5 separate regions of the Homo sapiens genome follow, and regions 1, 3, 4 and 5 are each linked to region 2. The links are contacts of gene promoters, found by promoter capture Hi-C in blood cells and fetal thymus (Javierre and others, 2016). All regions are on one chromosome and are shown on one strand. Each heading gives the region's core, a stretch centred on a gene start or on the middle of the fragment in contact. The rest is flanking DNA. Distances are from core to core; before and after follow the strand shown. Region 1 has its middle 17 kb from the start of NOLC1. Region 2 holds the start of ARL3 (ARF like GTPase 3). Region 3 has its middle 2.3 kb from the start of INA. Region 4 overlaps PDCD11 (programmed cell death 11). Region 5 holds the start of RPEL1 (ribulose-5-phosphate-3-epimerase like 1).

The links. The method cuts DNA at HindIII sites, captures the fragments that hold promoters and counts their contacts. A CHiCAGO score of 5 or more calls a contact.
Region 1: a fragment that was not itself captured here is called in contact with the fragment with the promoter of ARL3 in region 2 in 1 of 17 cell types (total CD8 T cells); the score reaches 5.3 in total CD8 T cells.
Region 3: a contact is called between a fragment that was not itself captured here and the fragment with the promoter of ARL3 in region 2, in 1 of 17 cell types (endothelial precursors). The highest score is 5.2, in endothelial precursors.
Region 4: a contact is called between a fragment that was not itself captured here and the fragment with the promoter of ARL3 in region 2, in 2 of 17 cell types (fetal thymus and erythroblasts). The highest score is 7.2, in fetal thymus.
Region 5: a contact is called between a fragment that was not itself captured here and the fragment with the promoter of ARL3 in region 2, in 1 of 17 cell types (neutrophils). The highest score is 6.8, in neutrophils.

Annotation. Positions count from the first base shown.
Region 1 is chr10:102,167,541-102,170,240 of GRCh38, reverse strand. No RefSeq gene overlaps it. Among named protein-coding and RNA genes, the nearest start is that of NOLC1, 17 kb to the right of the region's middle. The HindIII fragment of the contact is 1,609 bases long and covers 592-2,200 here.
Region 2 is chr10:102,712,963-102,715,662 of GRCh38, reverse strand. ARL3 (ARF like GTPase 3) reads left to right here and starts at 1,266. Exons shown (of 6, transcript NM_004311.4): 1 at 1,266-1,390. The coding sequence starts at 1,388. It overlaps SFXN2 (sideroflexin 2), which reads right to left and starts at 1,027. Exons shown (of 12, transcript NM_178858.6): 1 at 982-1,027. RefSeq lists enhancers at 49-624, 625-1,201 and silencers at 987-1,136, 955-1,349, 1,417-1,466, 1,507-1,606. The HindIII fragment of the contact is 3,072 bases long and covers 1-2,302 here.
Region 3 is chr10:103,273,457-103,276,156 of GRCh38, reverse strand. No RefSeq gene overlaps it. Among named protein-coding and RNA genes, the nearest start is that of INA, 2.3 kb to the left of the region's middle. The HindIII fragment of the contact is 1,974 bases long and covers 338-2,311 here.
Region 4 is chr10:103,396,937-103,399,636 of GRCh38, reverse strand. It overlaps PDCD11 (programmed cell death 11), which reads right to left. Exons shown (of 36, transcript NM_014976.2): 2 at 1,109-1,221. The coding sequence starts at 1,210. Among named protein-coding and RNA genes, the nearest start is that of PDCD11, 1.7 kb to the right of the region's middle. RefSeq lists enhancers at 1,525-2,025, 2,026-2,527. The HindIII fragment of the contact is 484 bases long and covers 1,193-1,676 here.
Region 5 is chr10:103,245,732-103,248,431 of GRCh38, reverse strand. It overlaps RPEL1 (ribulose-5-phosphate-3-epimerase like 1), which reads right to left and starts at 2,545. Exons shown (of 1, transcript NM_001143909.1): 1 at 416-2,545. The coding sequence starts at 2,435. The coding sequence ends at 1,749. The HindIII fragment of the contact is 5,051 bases long and covers 1-2,700 here.

The DNA.
Region 1 (2,700 bases), core at 147-2,646, 550 kb after region 2:
AGTCCCAGCTACTCGGGAGGCTGAGGCAGGAGAATGGCGTGAACCCAGGAGGCAGAGCTTGCAGTGAGCCGAGATGGCACCACAGCACTCCAGCCTGGGCGACAGAGCGAGACTCTGTCTCAAAACAAACAAACAAACAAACAAACAAAAAACCCCTTCTCTAATTTCCAAAACTAAAGAGCCTCAGATGAGGGCCTGTGTCTTATTCATCTGTGTATCCAAAGGCTCACAGTGGGCTCTTCAAGGTGTTTTTTTTTTTTTTTGAGACGGAGTCTCGCTCTGTCGCCCAGGCTGGAGTGCAGTGGCGCTATCTCGGCTCACTGCAAGCTCCGCCTCCCGGGCTCACGCCATTCTCCTGCCTCAGCCTCCCGAGTAGCTGGGACTATATAGGCGCCCGCCACGGCGCCCCGCTAATTTTTTGTATTTTTAGTAGAGACGGGGTTTCACTGTGTTAACCAGGTTGGTCTCGATCGGCTGACCTCGTGATCCGCCCGCCTCCGCCTCCCAAAGTGCTGGGATTACAGGCGTGAGCCACTGCGCCCGGCTCTTCAAGTTTGTTGAATAGCACTGGAGTAAGTAAGGAGTTAAGCTTCTATTTAAGTCCAGCCCAGCTCCCTAAACAGGGGGGCAACATCGCCACCTACTGGCCCCATCGGTAACTGCAGACAGGCTCTGCAGGAGGGATTTGAGAACTTCGTGGTCCGGCAGAAATAGTGCTTTCACCGCAACCGGATTAGTGCCAGGAGTATTGTATTAGACTATCAAATCTCCTAACATACTCAGGTGGACAAAATAAAGTACTAATTCCTAACTTAGGTACAAAAGGCCATTGACATTGAACTCTCAGTGAAATTTCGCAGTATCTTGCCCCCACCTCCCGCACACCTCTGCTTGACCCATTCTAACAGCCCTCTTCTCCCACTGGAAAAGGCACTCTTCCTTACACGGTATGCACTTTTCTCGCTCCTGGCAAACTGCAGCTGTCTTCAGAATCCTAGGCCACCATCAGCCAAGTCTTTTCTTCTTCTTCTTCTTCTTTTTTTTTTTTTTTTTTTTTGAGACAGAGTTTCACTTTGTTGCCCAGGCTGGAGTGCAGTGGCACGATCTTGGCTCACTGCAACCTCCGCCTTCCGGTTTCAAGCGATTCTCCTGTCTCAGTTTCCTGAGTAGCTGGGATTACAGGCGCCTGCCACCACACCTGGCTAATTTTTTGTATTTTTAGTAGAGACGAGGTTTCACTATGTTGACCAGGCTGGTCTCGAACTCCTGACCTCGTGATCTGCCTGCCTCGGCCTCCCAAAGTGCTGGGATTACAGGTGTGAGCCACCACACCGGGCCAAGCCAAGTATTTTCTTGCTTGTACCCTTAGGGGTGCTACTCTGACCTTCAGTTTGGGACAGAACTCAGCTCAGTGCACAGAAACCATTCCCATGCCTGACTTTCCCCATTAGACACTGAGCTCTCTGGGAGTTCTATGACGAGTACATAGCAGGTTCACAAAGACTATTGAATACAGGTAGCTCCATGTTTGGACATACAGAGACCTGTGTTCTTGTCTCAATGTGCCACTAAGTTGCAGTTTCATCAACCCTAAGTAAATCATTTGATACTCAGGGCTGTTTCCGTAGTGGTTTTCAACTAGGGGCAATTTTCCTTCCCAGAAAATATTTGGCAATGCCTGGAGCCGTTTTTGGTTGTCACAACTAGGGGAAACTATTGGCATGCAGTGTTAGAGGCCAGGGACGCTGCCACACATCCTACAACACACAGGACAGTCCTCAAAAGCAAAGACTTACCTGGCCCCAAATGGAATGATCTACTCGATACCCACCTAACAGGGTTGCAGTAAGGCTACACCGGGCGAAGGGCAAGCCCCCAACAGGGCATTAGGAAGTCTCCTGCCTGTGTCCATGAAGCATGATGCAGAGGGGCATGAGCCATGTGTCTGGTTGACTGAATTTGCGGATTTCAGTGCCAGAGCCCATCAGCAAGGGGTAGGAATTCCAGATTCTTCACAAAACTAAGAAGTTTCTAATAGGACCAATTCCACATATCCATTTTTGTATCAGGAATAAAGATGATAAACGTGAAACAACAAAAAACCATTGCAGGGAAATAATCATTAACATATGCTTGATGCCTTTGCCAAAATGGCATGTTGCACATCACAAGGAAACCAAAGAACATCATTTCCAAAGCTTTTTTTGTTGAGCAAGAGGCAGTTATGGAGTGCTTATAATATGCCAGGGACTGTACTAAGTGCTTTAAATTCTCAGTCCTTACAACAAGCCTCTGAGAGAGTCAAGAATCTACAAATGAGTTGAGATAGTATTCTCTCTTTTTTTGAGACAGAGCCTTGCTCTGTCACCCAGCCTGGAGTGCAGTGGTGCGATCTCAGCTCACTGCAAGTAGCCAGGATAGTCTCGATCTCCTGACCTCGTGATCCACCCGCCTTGGACTCCCAAAGTGCTGGGATTACAGGCCCAGCCAGTATTCTCATTTTACATCAGAAGGTACACTCTGGGCTGGGCACAGTGGCTCACGCCTGTAATCCCAGCACTTTGGGAGGCTGAGGTGGGAGGATTGTTTGAGAGTAGCCTGGGCAACACAGGGAGACCCTGTCTCTACAAAACAAAATTAAAAACAAAAACAAAAACAAAACAAACAAAAAAACAACTAGCCAAGCCTAGTGACTACTGT
Region 2 (2,700 bases), core at 17-2,516:
CAATTACCAATTTCTAGGGGTTGTGAAAATGAAATTTGGTATGAAATGTATTTCATTAGGAAGGATGTAATTTCCATACGGGCTGATTTTGTCCACTGCTGTGTCTCCAGCGTCTAGAACAGGGCCTAGCACGTTTGTGTAAACTCTTCTTATAGTCCTCTGCATCGGGAAAGGGATGGGAGGTAGCACTTCCCAACCCACCCCAGTGTCCCACTTGCTCTTCCTTGGCTAAAAATGCAGGCTCATTTTTGCCTCCTCCAGGACTACAGATGGTACGCGGTCCTGTCCAAAGCAGCTTAGCAAAACCGGCCAGAGGCTGGGCACAGTGGCTCACCACTTTGGAACACCTGTAGTCTCAGCACTTTGGGAGGCCTAGGCGGGCGGATGGCTTGACCCCAGGAGTTCGAGCCCAGCCTGGGCAACATGGCGAAACTCCGTCTCTACAAAAACAAAATACAAAAAATTATCCAGGCGTGGTGGCGCCCGCCTGCAATCCCAGCTACTCGAGAGTCTGAGGCGGGAGAATCGCTTAAGCCTGTGAGGCAAAGGCTGCAGTGAGCCGAGATCGCGCCACCGCACTCCGGCCCGGGCGACAGAGCGACACCCTGTGTCAAAACAAAAACCGGGCCGATCCCCAAAACGCCTTTCACCTGTGCTTTCAGCTCACCTCAGGGCTCAGGGCCAGCCCCCAGGCTGCTTCTTGCCCTCCGACAGACGGCCTCCCCCCATCGGTACTCCCCCATCCCGGACAGCTCGTAACGCCCCAGCCGCTCGGCCTGGCACTCCTAGGCAATGGGGGTCAGAGCAGAGGGGCCCATCTGCAGCCCCAGGGCGCACTTCGCGCCACGTGGCTTCTGCAGGTGGAAGTCCAGCCCGCGCTGCAGCCCCGCCTGGGCAGTCAGGACAGCAATCTCAGCACCCACCCGAGATGTGGGGATTGGAGGTAGACAGGGCGAGCGCCATTGTCCCAAGGCCCCTTACCTGGTCCCGGGACAAATGCCACCAGTTACAGCCCGCCTTGAAAACTGGCCCGGGTGAGAGGAGGACCTGGGCTGGGGAACTGCCCCCACGCCCGCCCCACGCCCCTCCTTTTCGACCAATCCCAGGCCGGGAGGCTCCCGCCAGCCACGTGGGCAGGCTTTCTCCACTCCCTGGTCCAGGCGAGCCGGCGGCGGCCTCTGCAGCTCCCGTAGCCCGCCCACTGCGTGGGCGGGCGCCTTAGCGCACTTGCGCACTCTGGGGAAAGCGGAGCTGCACCCCGCCCCGTATTGCTGCTCAGCTCCTCAGCTGTGCGTGCGAGGGACGTCGGGGGCGGCGCCGCAGCAGTTGCCCCTGGTAACGGGGGAGGCAGCAGGAGGAGGAGGAGGAGGAGGGACTCGGCGGGAGGATGGTGAGTGTGGGGGCCTGGGCCCCCTTGGAGCCGGCCGGTTATCCCCCTCCCGTCCCCAGGCCCAGGGCGGAGCACTGCGCTTAAAGCCAAGGAGGGAATGGGACGTCGCTCAGCCTGCTATCTGGGTTGTGGACTGATTTCGGGGGTCGGCGGGGAGACCCGAGGGTGGGCCCTGGAGGGAGGCCTGGGCCTGGAGAGGAAGGCGGGGCTTGCAGCGGGTCCGAGGCTTGGGGAAGGGGCTGGCAGAGTGCGCGGCTGGCCGGGTGCGGAGCCCGGGCTCCATCATTACTCTGGGGACAGGGGTGAGGGCGGATCCCAGGAACTGCGGAGAGCAGCTTTCGCTAGCAGGCTTAGACTTCCCGGGCAATCGGTCTCGCGGCTTTGCAGTAAAGTGGGGTTCGTCTGGAGCCCGGCCAGAAGCGGAGAGAAGGCCGGCCCCATTGGCTCTGAGGTCGCCCTGGCGGTAGCAGGGGAGATGGTAGCCTAGCTCTCCTCCTTCTCGCGCTGTGCGGGCCCCTGGGGGGTAGGGAAGTAAGTCCCACGACACAAAGGGGTGCCGCTTGGAAGGGATGCCTGGTGGATTTTACGCCGTCTTGGTGTCTGCGTGGCGGGTGCGCTTCCTCAGTCCCGAATTATTTAGTTATTTGCTGAGAGTTTTGCAGGATCTGATTGTTGGTGATGACCGATTTTTCATTCAATACATAATCCATGTTGATGAAGACATATTAGCTGCTCCGTCTCTAGAATTTCCTTCGAAACCTTTTGCAGTCTCCTCTTGCGTGTGACCATACCAGGACCAAAAGATCTTAATCCTAGCTTGAGTTCTCCAAACTGAAAAGAACGAGAAGTTAAAAATGGAGATCGAACTTCAATCCGGGGCAAGGCTTTTCTCTGTCAGTCCCAATTAAAGCTTTCCCAAATTCTAAATTATGGTTGTGACAGATCTGACCGTTGACACTCTGTTTCTTGTTAATGTCTGTACAGTTAGTTGGAGGGAGTTAAAATGGAATTGAGTAATTTTAGAGCTATCAAAGAAAAATTGATTTTGAACACTTAAAGCAGGTTAGTTGGCTGCAAAGAGCCTGTCATCAAACTTATAGTCACTGCTCCAACTCTCTTCCTAGTTCCTTTCTTGACTTTTAGAAATGTTGAGCCATTTCTGTTGATTTAAGAAGTAAAAAAAAAAACAAAAAAACTAGATGCCCAGGAAAAAAAAAAATAGATGTATGTTTGGTCAGATTATCCAGTGAGTAGATTTAGAAAGGAAAAAAAAAACTCAATTGATTTTACATTGTCAGATTGTTAAAGAA
Region 3 (2,700 bases), core at 75-2,574, 560 kb before region 2:
CATTCTCCACTGAATTACGCCCCCCTTCTTAATTCATTTACTTTACCTCTCTGACCCTGTGGGCATTTGAGATTTCAGTTTGTGTAAATCCAGCAGGGCAGGTTCTCAACTGGCTTCAGAGAGCCACTCCCTGTGCAGATCTCTTTTTGGAGAAAAGAGATCCCTGCAAAAAGATTAAACTCCAGGAGTGGGGGAGAGTGCTGGTGACTGAGCCGGCCTCTTCTGCCACATGGTAGGGTTGGTGGGGCAGGGGGTGAGAATCAAAGAATGGAATCTGAAAAGATGAAGGCTGGGAGGGGTCAGTGTGGCGTCTGTAATATGTACCCACTTGCAAGCTTCTAATATCATTCAGGATGTGGATATGGCTTTGGAGAGGGAGTAGGAAGACCTTTTTAGTTATATCCCAGAATTCCAGACTGAGGGCCTTTTATTGATATTGGAATCTTCAAGGACGTAGTTCTAGGATAAGTTTTACTTCATGGGGAAAGGGGAATATGCTTGGGACAGGCCACTAAAGGAAGGGTGAAAAGGGATCTTATGGGACTTTGGAGCATATCTCTTGGCTTTGTGCTTGATGTCATGGAAGATGGTCAGGCCCTGCCACAGCCTGCCCCTCTGGTTCCTCATCACAGACCAAAGCCTTGAGTTGGAGGGACTCAATTCTGAGGTCTTTGGGCTTAGAAAGACCTGGTAAGGTGAACAATAAAAGATTGCTAACACTGCTGAGTAATGATTGTCTGCCAGTACTTGTGCTGGCACTTTTGCATAGGTTTACCTCTGAACCATGCTTCAAGGTGGCCCTCACCTCCATCTTATAGATAAGGCACCGAGGTGCGGGTGCAGCACAAGGTCACCAGCAAGCAAAGACAAGCATACATTCTCTCTTCACTACATAATTCTGCTTAGTGCAGTGAGACTCTTTTTTTTTTTTTTTTTTTTCTGAGACGGAGTTGGCCGGGTGCAGTGGCTCACACCTGTAATCCCAGCACTTTGGGAGGCCGAGATGGGCGGATCACTTGAGGTGAGGAGTTTGAGACCAGCCTGACCAACATGGTGAAACCCTGTCTCTATTAAAAATATAAAAATGAGCCGGGTGTGGTGGCACGGGCCTGTAATCCCAGCTCCTCAGGAGGCTGAGGCAGGAGAATTGCTTGAACTCGGGAGGTGGAGGTTTTAGTGAGCCGAAATCATGCGACTGCACTCCAGCCTGGGTGACAGAGCGAGACTCCATCAAAAAAAAAAAAAAAAAGAGAGACGGAGTTGCGCTCTTCTTGCCCAGGCTGGAGGGCAGTAGCGTGATCTTGGCTCACCACAGGTCAGCGGGTAGGTGTCTGCCACAACATCTGGCTATTTTTTGTATTTTTTTTTTTTTTTGAGATGGAGTCTCGCTCTGTCGCCCAAGCCGGAATGCAGTGGCACAATCTCGGCTCACTGCAACCTTTGCCTCCTGGGTTCAAGCAGTTCTCTGCCTCAGGCTCCCGAGTAGCTGGGATTACAGGTGCCCACCACCACACCTGGCTAATTTTTGTATTTTTAGTAGAGATGGGGTTTCACCATGTTGGCCAGGCTGGTCTTGAACTCCTGACCTCGTGATCCACCTGCTTTGGCCTCCCGAAGTGCTGGGATTACAGGCATGAGCCACCACGCCTGGCCAATTTTTTGTATTTTTACTAGAGACGGGGTTTCATCATGTTTTCCAGGCTCGTCTTGAACTTGACCTCAGGTGATCCACCTGCCTTGGCCTCCCAAAGTGCAGGGATTACAGACGTCAGCCACTGCGCCCAGCCTGCAGTGAGACTCTTGAAGTCTTGTTAATTTCCATGCAGCACGGCCGGCTGCCGTGGCTCCTGCCTGTAATCTCAGCACTTTGGGAGGCCGAGGCGAGTGGATCACCTGAGGTCAGGAGTTCGAGACCAGCCTGACCAACATGGAGAAACCTGTCTCTACTAAAAATACAAAATTAGCTGAGGGTGGTGGCACATGCCTGTAATCCCAGCTACTCTGGAGGCCAAGGCAGAAGAATCACTTGAACCCGGGAGGCGGAGGTTGTGGTGAGCCAAGATCGCACCATTGCACTCCAGCCTGGGCAACAAGGGTGAAACTGTCTCAAAAAAACAAAATATTTCTGTGCAGCCAGAATAGGACTAAGTGGGCTTTGGAAGAGTTTTGGCTGATAACAAATCAGCATGCTGGTTTGTAATTGAAAGAACATTGGACTCAGAGTCAGAGGCAATGGGTTTGAATTGTGGCTTCTGCCACTTACTAAGCATGTAGGGATAACAACACCTACCTCCCAAGAGTCATGAAAGCTTGAGCTGATGCATGTGAAGGTGCTTTTAAGCTGTAGGTATAAAGAGTTATGGTCATCATCATCCTCTTTCAAATGAAAGGAACGGTTTCACATCCATCAGCAACAGGATATGAATTGGGTTTAGGGAGGGGATTGCAGGAAATAGTCCATCACACCCTTGCACAGGTCTCCAGGCTACTACTACTGAAAGTCAGCAAAATGTCCTGGTTGGAGTTCCGCTTTCTTTCCCTTCCCATCCTCCAGTGGAATCAGTACCCCAAAGGCAAAACACACATAGAACAGAAGAAAGTGAGGCAAAAGGCCTAAATATTTCAGCAGAGTGACAGTTGCCCTGGCAAAGATGCATTTTGCATTTTCTCAACAGCTTATCTGAGATTCCAAACTGGTAT
Region 4 (2,700 bases), core at 185-2,684, 680 kb before region 2:
ACACTCAAATGTTAGTTCCCTTTCCCCAAGCATTTGGAGCACAGCCTAGTCTAGGTGAGACTGTGAAGTCTAATGCAAATTCTGACCATTACATGTGGCAAGGAACCCCTGTAAAAATGCAATGATCAGTCAGACACAGTGGAACATGCCTGTTGTTCCAGTTACTCAGGAGGCTAAGGAGGGAGGATCGACTGAGCCCAGGAGTTTAAGTCCAGCCTGAGTAACAGAGTGAAACATCATCTCTCCCCATCTCTTGAAAAAACAACAACAAAAATAACAAAAACATCAGCTGGGTGCAGTGGCTCACACCTGCCATCCCAGCACTTTGGGAGGTCAAGGTGAGCAGATCATCTGAGGTCAGGAGTTTCAGACCAGCCTGGCCAACATGGTGAAACCCCATCTCTAACAAAAATACAAAAATTAGTCAGGTATGGTAGCAGGCACCTGTAATCCCAGCTACTCACGCCACTGCACTTCAGCATGGGCAACAGAGTAAGACTTCGTCTCAAAAAAAAAAAAAAAAAAAAAACTGCTTCCTCTCCATCCTTAATCAACATGGCACATGGCAAAGAGTGTCTAAGAACAAGGAACAGCACTTTATTTATTTTGTTTGTGTGTTTTTTGAGACAGAGTCTCACTCTGTCGCCCAGGCAGGAGAGCAGTGGCACAATATTGGGTCAGTGCAACCTCCACCTTCTTGGTTCAAGCAATTCTCATGCCTCAGCCTCCCAAGTAGCTAGGACTACAGGTATACTACCATGCCCAGCTAGTTTTGGTATTAGTATAGACGGGGTTTCACCATGTTGGCCAGGCTGCTCTTGAATTCCTAGCCTCAAGTGATCCGCCTGCCTCGGCTTCCCAAACTGCTGGGATTACAGGCATGAGCCACTACGCCCAGCTAATAACAGTACTTTAATACTAAATGCCAAGCTTCAAAAGATACAGCCTTGTGGTGGTATGGCCTCTCTAAATGAGTTAAATTTATAGAAGTAGACTTCAATGCAAAAAAAATCTGGAAAAATAACACATTCTCAAATAAGGCTCATTTTTCACAAGACACTACAGTAAAAGTTTCCAGTGAGTGTCACCAAACAAGCATACTACTTACATCAAATAAGTTGTCTTGTTCAACTGACTGCTGGAAAGCTTTCTCTGGTTTGTGGATCTTTCTTGTACCTCCTCGGGGGAAGCTTTCTTCCAGGTTTGCCATGTTTGGGTCTCCTAAAAACAATGCAAAGGATAATGGTGACATGTTGTCTTGGTAGCAGATTTCAGAAAGGTGTTATCAACGGGCAAGAGACAGAACGTTCCAGCAATATGCTAGACAACATTCAGGACTACAACATAGATGGTTTAGATGTCAGGCCCGGAATAATCCATACTTCATCTTTCCAAAGGTCTCTGCTTCAAAACCACAAGTCCACCCACCTTCTTCCAGAAAAAGAAGTTATAGATTCAATGTAGCACATACTCACTAAGAAGCTACAGTTAAGTCAGAGATACACTGTAGCTCTACAGATGAATATATAATCCTCTGCCTTCAAAGAACATGCACACTTTTTGGAAGATAAAACAATTATGCAAGTAACTTAAAATGCAAATCAGATTATAAATGATCACAAAGATGTAGGAAGGGATAAGGCAATGTAGGAAGGGATAAGTAAAGGAGGCAAGCTTCATAAAGAAGATCTTTTTTAGCTTAAGGGTAAAAGATGAACAGAAGCTTGACAGGTAGAAAGGGAATGTGAGAAAAGACATGGATGGGAAAAGCCTATTATTTCAATAAACACCAGCAATTTCCCTATCAAACAACTGCTCAAAGGCTTGCTGTTGTCTCTGAGGAATTATTCAACTAGACCACTGGGAGATTAAAGCATAAAAATTGAAGTTAAATTTTAAAGAAGGCCGGGCACCATGGCTCACACCTGTAATGCCAGCACTTCGGGAGCCCGAGGCGCGTGGATCATCTGAGGTCAGGAGTTCGAGACCAGCATAGTCAACATGGCGAAACCCCGTCTCTACCAAAAACGCAAAAATTAGCCGGGCGTGGTGGCCTGCGCCTAGTCCCAGCTACTAGGCAGGCTGAAGCGTGAGAATTGCTTGAGGCCGGGAGGCGGAGGTTGCAGTGAGCTGAGATCATGCCGCCGCACTCCAACCTGGGAGACAAAGTGAGACTCTGTCTCAAAAAAATTAAAGGAGAAGTTGGGCTTTTTTGTGGAAGACCTTGAATTAGATATGGGTAGTTTGCTTTGGCAAGTCAGAGACTTAAGCAGGGAAAGCGAGAGAACAGTAAGCAAGAAAAATATACTGCAGGCTATAGATTGGACATGAAGAGAGACAGTATTGAAGGCAAGTAAATTCGGTAGAAGGATTCAAATGCACTGTTTCCTGTTATCTCAGTGACAGAAAAAAAAAAAAAAAAAAAGGATTCAAATGCAGTACAGCAGAGAAACCATGAGAACCAGAACTGGGTATAAGTGAAAACAGAAGACAGGAGAGGTTAGTTCTGACAGACACTTGGTAATAAGACTCTACAAGGGCTTTAGACTAAAGAAGTGATGACCGGGTGGGGCCAAGGATATGGAATCAGGGATGGGTATATGATTCATAGAAACAGGAAAGTTTGGGGGGTCTAGTTTGCTGATAATTTCACCCTTAATTTCCTTTCAAGCAAGGGGAAACTGAGGCTCTGAAAAGTAA
Region 5 (2,700 bases), core at 178-2,677, 530 kb before region 2:
TGGTGTGATCTCAGCTCACTGCAGCCTCGACCTCCCATACTCAAGTGGTCCTCCCACCTCAGCCTCCCGAGTGGCTGGGACCACAGGCACATGCTACCACATCTGGAGAATTTTTGTATTTTTTGTAGAGATGGGGTTTTACATTGTTGCCCAGGCTGGATCATTCTTTCTTAAAACCATGTTCAGAATCAAGTTGAGTAGCCTCCTGTAGAACTATCTGGCATGGGGTAATGGGAAAATGGCAAATACCAGGCTTGTACATCACCACTCACCATTCCTCACTCATGGCAGCCACAACTAATCAAACCTGGCACTTTACCCTCTTAATTCAATAATTAAGAATTCAAAACCTAGGAATTCTTTCTCAAGTCACTGTTTCAGGCAGGTGCTACCAATGGATAGGAGTTGGCATGGGAGACGTAATCAGGCAGGTGGGTTCGAACCTATACTGCACCCTTACTAGCTATATGACCTTGAGCAGGTCAGGCAACCTTCCTGAGACTCAGTTTTTGTCAACTGTAAATTAAGATAGTATCTCATTTGCAGTAGAATTGCCTTAGAATTATCCTGAGGATTTGTTGACAACATATATGTAAAAGTAGCCAGCACTGTACCTGGAAGAGACAAGGCCATGAAAAGTGTATAGCCTTTGAGGAGCCCGTCAATCCCTTCAGCTCGTGCTCTGGAAACTGTTAGGGAACACTTTTTTTTTTTTTTAAATGGGGACAAAAATATCTGCTTTATTATTACCACTTACTTATAGAGGTGATTTACAGATTTAATGAGAATATATCAAAGTACTTTATAACTCACAAAAATATAAACTTATATAATGCTATCTACTTTGTATTGAGCATATTCTAAATTCTGGGACTAGTACTAGAAACTTTACATATATAGTGTTACCTCTTAATTCTCAACACAACCCCACAGTTGTTATAATTACATTTAATGTATAAATGACTTCAGAGAAACACAAAAAAGACTGGGTGATTTGTTAAAGGTCCAGCTAGAAAAGGGCAGTCAGAATTCAACCCAATATTACTTCCATACAGAGGTTTTTACTTTTTCCTTTCTACTCAGAGCTAACACAACAGCATTATTTAACGTCCTTAAGAATGGTGGGGAGGAATCACTGAATAACCTGCTTTGACAAAAACACCCTGATAAAATCTATGCTTGTATTTTAGAACCCCTGGGTTTCACGCATTGTTTTTATAGTTTTTACACATTAAGTGTAAGGTGAAAAGTGATAGATTTTAAGAACCAAGAATATGGTATGCCATCCCACCCAAACTTATAAACAAATCACAAATAACATGAAATAGAAAAAAGCCATAAAGACTTCCTTTGCTTTTGGAAAACAGCTGAGAAACAACAAAATTCTTTTCAGAAGTACAGACAAAATTTGTTTTTGTAGTGTAGCTAATATGCCCTCCTTAGGCATTAAGACACTTTTCTGTTTGTAACCTTAATGCAGCCGTATTTTTACTCTTTATAAAAATCAAGTCTCTCAATAAAAACAGTATCTTACTCACTAATCATTAAATTGCATCACTAAAAATGTAGTTATACACACCAATTTCTGACCTCTTAGAATATTCTGCACAATCAGTTTTAATCACTGGAATGAATAACTGCTCAAAAAAGCAGTACAGCTTCAATTTCATGATGATTTGGTAGTCAATATTCCTGTTTTCCAGTAAAAGGGAGATTTCATGAACAGAAACATTGGGCTCCTTATGGTTTCATCGATCAAGAGAACGTTTCTGAGCAGCTTCTGAGCAAATATTTCTTAATAGGTTGATCACAGATCTGGGGTCTTCACTCCTCATAATAGCACTGCCAGATACAGTCATGTTAGCTCCTGCCTCTGCACACTTATGGACAGTGTCAGAACCTACTCCACCATCGCCCTCTATATCCAAAGATGGGAACTGGGTCCTCAACCAGTGAACCTTTGGCATCATATCTTCCATGAATTTCTGCTCTCCAAACCCCGGTTCCACTGTCATAACCAAGGCCATATCTATTTGATTAGCCCATGGTGCCAAATACTCAACTGAGGTTCCTGGTTTGATGGCAAGGCCAACCTTCATCCCATTCTCCCGAATGTCTTTAATCAAAGTCCCTGGGTTCTCAGTAGCCTCGAGATGAAAGGTGTACTGATTGGCTTCTGCTACAGCCATTGGCTTTACCCACTGTTCTGGCTTGGACACCATCATGTGCATGTCAAAGAAAGGGTCCTGGCCTAGCTGCTTTCGAAGGCTTTCTACCACAGGGTGACCAAAGGTGATGTTGGGAACAAAATGCCCATCCATTACATCCAGATGCAGATAATCGGCCCCAGAGTCTAGCATCTGGAGGCACTTGGCCCCTAAATTGGCCAGGTCGCTGTTGAGGATGGACGGGCCAATCTTGCAGCCCGACGCCATACCGCTGGCTCCCAAGAACAAGTTACCCCACGAGTCCCCGGCAAGACTAGAGCCCACTTTTTTTTTTTTTAAAACCAGGAAATTCTACCAAAGAACCACAGTTTGGCCAGGCACAGTGGCTCATGCCTGTAATCCCAGCACTTCAGGAAACCAATGCAGAAGGATCACTTGAGCCCAGGTGTTTGAGACCAGCCTAGGCAACATAATAGGAACCCGTTTTTACAAAGTAAAAAATTTGCCTGTGTGATGGCACATGCCTGTGGTC